2 separate regions of the Homo sapiens genome follow, and region 2 is linked to region 1. The links are contacts of gene promoters, found by promoter capture Hi-C in blood cells and fetal thymus (Javierre and others, 2016). All regions are on one chromosome and are shown on one strand. The core of a region is centred on a gene start or on the middle of the fragment in contact, and the rest is flanking DNA. Distances in the headings are between cores, read along the strand shown. Region 1 holds the start of C1QL2 (complement C1q like 2). Region 2 has its middle 89 kb from the start of MARCO.

What was found. The method cuts DNA at HindIII sites, captures the fragments that hold promoters and counts their contacts. A CHiCAGO score of 5 or more calls a contact.
Region 2: a contact is called between a fragment that was not itself captured here and the fragment with the promoter of C1QL2 in region 1, in 1 of 17 cell types (M2 macrophages). The highest score is 5.7, in M2 macrophages.

What each region holds. Positions count from the first base shown.
Region 1 is chr2:119,157,475-119,160,049 of GRCh38, reverse strand. It overlaps C1QL2 (complement C1q like 2), which reads left to right and starts at 1,299. Exons shown (of 2, transcript NM_182528.4): 1 at 1,299-2,464. The coding sequence starts at 1,781. RefSeq lists an enhancer at 2,121-2,575. The HindIII fragment of the contact is 3,837 bases long and covers 1-2,575 here.
Region 2 is chr2:119,029,521-119,032,095 of GRCh38, reverse strand. No RefSeq gene overlaps it. Among named protein-coding and RNA genes, the nearest start is that of MARCO, 89 kb to the right of the region's middle. The HindIII fragment of the contact is 3,264 bases long and covers 1-2,575 here.

The sequences.
Region 1 (2,575 bases), core at 50-2,549:
ATCCTTCCTTAGCCTCACATGCTACATTGGAGATAGACTATTCTGCTCTCATCTGAGGCCATGGTTTATTCAAGACTGGCTCAGAATGGCTTTGGACTATTTGGACTATTTTCTAAAATAACTAAACCCATCTCAGGAGGAGGAAGCTGGGGATGTCCAAGGGAATGTGCCCATGCATCTGCCTGGCAGTGGCCGGGCTTGGAGTAGAAGCTGAGTGCACCATGATCACTGCCAAGTGCCGGCATCAAGCATTTGGTTTCTACACCAGCTTCACGCAGAGGACAAGGGCCAGCCATTTTCTGGTGGAAGAAAAGGTCTGAGGCGAATATTCCTTTTTTTTTTTTTTTTTTTTGAGATGGACTTTTGCTTTTGTTGCCCAGGCTGGAGTGCAATGGCACGATCCCGCCTCACCGCAACCTCTGCCTCTCTGGTTCAAGCGACTCTCCTGCCTCAGCCTTCCGCGTAGCTGGGATTACGGGCATGCACCACCATGCCCAGTTAATTTTGTGTTTTTAGTACAGACGGGGTTTCATCATGTTGGTCAGGCTGGTCTCAAACTCCCAACCTCAGGTGATCTGCCCGCTTCGGCCTCCCAAAGTGTTGGGATCACAGGCGTGAGCCACTGCGCCCGGCCGCAAATATTCTTGTATTGGGAGCCTTGGGCTTTTTAGAGTCACCTCAGAGGTTAGTGGGGTGCTCTACGGGAGCCTGTTTAAGAGTCTGGAGTCCTTAGTCTAGGTTTGCGAAAGATCTTCCAGAAGCGAGATCTATTCAATTCTGAAGAAATAACTCAGGAGGTCTTTCAGAAACTCCTTCCCGCTGGACCTCACGGGACTCTCCTGGACTCGGTGGGTTGAGGTTTGATCCTCTTTGCAGGCCAGGGGATGGATTAGGTGACCCCAGAGGAGCCCTGCTGACACCTGGATTCCAGCTGCTTTCGTGGCCATGTGGGGGTGGCTGTGCGTGCCCCGCCACTGCGTGCGTGGGTGTCTGTGTGTGTTATCGGTGGGGGGCGCGTGAGTGTGGCCGCGGGTGGGTGTGTCCGATGTGCCCCGGCTTGGGACCGCGCCCGCTGCGCCCACTTGTGGCTCCTGGGAGCCGCCAGGGGGAACCGCGCCTTCACCGCCTCTGCCGAGGACGCCGCCAGATAGGAGGCTGATGACATGAGGGCTCCGTCTCCCGAGTGATGGCAGCGCGCGCTGCTTCGCCGCCTCCGCCGCTCAGCCCCGGACTCCTTACGTCAGGGTAGCGGGGTCCCCCCTCCGCGCGGGAGCCAGCGAACAGCGAGAGAGCACAGCAGAGCGCGCCGCGGAGCCGGGGCGCCCTCACTGCGCTAGGAGCCCCACTAAACCCAGCGGAGCGGAGCCTGGCGGGAGGCAGCGCCGCGGAGCCAGCGCCGGACGCCGCAAGCAGACTCCCCGGCCAGCGCAAGCACTCCCTGGCCGGCGCCGGACCCTCGGGGCGCCGGATTCGTCTTGTGTGCCCCACGTCATGCGCGCGGGCGTCCGCGGCTCTCCCGACCAGCCCCAGCGCGGTGGGCCCAGGCTCAGAGGTCCCGGCGCCTCTCGCTGAAGTAGTTGGGTAGCCGGGGCTGGGGGTCGCCACGTCGGGGGCGCGGCCAGGACCCGCGGAGCCGGTCCCCGAGCGCGGGGAGCGGGGCCGCCCGCGCCGCCCCACCATTACCTCCCCGGGCGGCAAGGAGGAGCTGGTGGCGGTCGCCTCCCGGCTGTGGCAGCGGCGGCGGCGTGCCTGCCTGGCGGCCGTCGGCGTACTCTTGGCCATGGCGCTCGGGCTGCTCATCGCCGTGCCGCTGCTGCTGCAGGCGGCGCCCCGAGGCGCCGCGCACTATGAGATGATGGGCACCTGCCGCATGATCTGCGACCCTTACACTGCCGCGCCCGGCGGGGAGCCCCCGGGTGCAAAGGCGCAGCCACCCGGACCCAGCACCGCCGCCCTGGAAGTCATGCAGGACCTCAGCGCCAACCCTCCTCCTCCTTTCATCCAGGGACCCAAGGGCGACCCGGGGCGACCGGGCAAGCCAGGGCCGCGGGGGCCCCCTGGAGAGCCGGGCCCGCCTGGACCCAGGGGCCCTCCGGGAGAGAAGGGCGACTCGGGGCGGCCCGGGCTGCCAGGGCTGCAACTGACGGCGGGCACGGCCAGCGGCGTCGGGGTGGTGGGCGGCGGGGCCGGGGTAGGTGGCGATTCCGAGGGTGAAGTGACCAGTGCGCTGAGCGCCACCTTCAGCGGCCCCAAGATCGCCTTCTATGTGGGTCTCAAGAGCCCCCACGAAGGCTATGAGGTGCTGAAGTTCGATGACGTGGTCACCAACCTCGGCAATCACTATGACCCCACCACGGGCAAGTTCAGCTGCCAGGTACGCGGCATCTACTTCTTCACCTACCACATCCTCATGCGCGGCGGCGACGGCACCAGCATGTGGGCGGACCTCTGCAAGAACGGGCAGGTCAGTGACCCCTACACTCACCGGCCCCCGTAAACCCTCGCCCGCGCCCTGAACCTCCCAGGGAACCAGCCTCCTTTCTCTCCACCCGCGGGCTACCCTGCGAGCCCCGGG
Region 2 (2,575 bases), core at 48-2,547, 130 kb after region 1:
GAAACTGCATCATAGCTCACTGCAGCCTCAAACTCCTGGACTCAAGTGATCTTCCTGCCTCAGCATCCTGAGTAGCTGGGGATAAAGGTGTGTGCCACCGCACTCAGCTATTTATTTTATTTTTGTAGAGATGGGGTCTCACTGTGTTACCCAGGCTGGTTTTGTAGGTCTGGCTACAAGGAATGTTCCCACCTCAGCCTCCCAAAATGCTGATTACAAGCGTGAACCACTATGTTCAGCCTGCTTTTGGTTTTTAACCCTCTCTGAATAAGCTGTATCTTTTGACGAGATGATTCAGTTTGTTCACATATTTAATAATTTATATGTTTAATAATGTACTTGCCTGTCTTTTCTGTTTCCTATTGTTTTATATTTGTACTTTATTTTAAATTGCTTTTTTCCCCTTATTTCCCATTGGTTTGGTCAAATTGTTACTCATCTTTTAATGTGTAGTGTCTAGCAAAACTGTTAAATTTTATTAATGGTTTCTATTTCCTTGTACTCATAATCAAACATATAGTTCTCTATTGTTCTTTGAAACAAGATACCAACTATTTCACCAGGTATGACATTGCCACAGCTTTCTCCCCTTCCTCCCCGCATGGGATGAGACCACTAGAACACCTTCCTCTGTTATCCTCCCCTTCATCCCTCCTTCTCTCAGTCCTGAGATGGACATTTGGAATGTCTCTAACCTCCTTCCCCTCCCACTGCCCCTGCTGAAATAGTGTTGCTGAAATTGTTTCGTGCTATTAGTTTTAGGCTATTGTAAGAATTTCCCTTGAAATATCTCCCTTCAATTTCCAGATTATTTAAGATTAATATTTCACATTTCCAGAGAATTCATTCTTCTCCATTCAGAATTTTTCTCCTGTTACTGAATTATTATCTTTTTGCTATATAGCCCCTTTTTTTCCTTCTGAAGCCACAATACTTGAATGTTAGGTTCATGCATCCATTCCCCAACTCTTGCTTTTGTCTTCATCATTTTCATCGTCTTATAGTTTTGCTCTGTGTGTTGGCATATATTACTTCCATTTGACTCAATTCAGGTCTCAACAGTAGCCACATTTTTCTTTCCTTCACTTGTTATGCTGTGTAGTTGGGAAATCCACATTTTAGCTTTTGAAAGCCTTTTTGGGTGTGTCCTGCTCTTGATTACCAATAAGTGCTCTGTTTTTCTGTTCAGTCTCAGAGATAAGTATTTGAAAGCAGACACAGCCACAGATACAAGAGAAATTAAAATACTTACAAGAGAAGAGTATATGTAACTTTTGGCAATAATTTTAAAATCTAGAAGAAATGGATGATTTTCCAGCAAATAAAAGTTTCCGCAATTGACTTCAGAAGAAGTGGAACGCTTCAAAAGACCTATTATGACAGAAGAGAGAGAAAGTAAACTACCTTTTAATCAACAACCAGGGCCCAGTGATATCACAGCTGAATTGTGTTGGACATTGAAAGATTAAGAGAGCAGCCTTCTGTGGCTCGGTGTGCACTTTGATAGGTCATCCTCAGTCTGGACACCTTGAGCGTTGTTGCAGGTGGGATCCCCAGGAAGGAGAGCAAGTGGGAGAGTGTCCTGCACAGGACACTCCCTACATCAGGGAGTTCTCTTGGGACCATCCCTGGAGGAAAAGGAAAGAAAGCAGGGTTGAGAAGAGGGAGATGTTGGAGTGTGGCAGGTTGCCTCCACAAAGCCACCCTCTATGAAGAGCCACCAGGCTGTTAGGACTCTTCAGAGTTGTCTTGAACTGAGGTGAGAGGGCTGGACTTTTATATCCCTGCATCAATGAGGCATTTGATATTGCCTGCCTTGGATATGCCAAGGCAACTCCCAAAGAGGCCTGACAATTGAGTGCCATCTGCCAAGAGCCTCTCAGAAGCTGAGGGAGGGAGGAGCCTTCATTACTGTAGCAGAGTCTGGGTGACACATTACAGCATCCACTACAGATGAGCTGGTATTTTTCTTTATTCTCCCCTGAGTTTTTGGCCTGTTACTGCATCTCACAAAAAGCAGCAGTTTCAGAACTGGTGGTGAGTGGTGGAGCAGTCCCCTCACTGCAGCGGCAGTGAGGGTGACCATGTATGGCATCTGGAGGACATTTTCTTGGCCGCTCCTATTCTCCCAGCTGCTGGAGCAGGGCAAACTCAGTCTACTCATTCAACTCTCTCTCTTGGCCAGGCACATGAGAACAGGGGGAGAGGAGGGTGGCAGCTCCCTACAGGAGGACCTGCTGCCTTACCATCCTTGCAAAGGGGCCTGTAGGAGAGAGTTCTACGTTGGTTTCCTTGGCCATGACTCACCTGATACCCATGGCCTCATACAGGCCACACAATGGCCACAGAGACTGGTTGTCTTGGGAGAATCAAATTGATGAGATCTGTTAATGGAGAGGAAGGGAGCTGTAGACAAGTGGCCTTCTCCTGAGAATCCCTTCCTCCTGCCTTTCTCCTTTGTCACCGTGTTTATGAGAGTCATGTAAAGTATTTTGTTCATTGAGTAGCTGAAATCAGCATGCTAACTCAGCAGCCAGTGCAGCCAGTAAGAACTGGGCTGTAGGCAGAAAAGAGA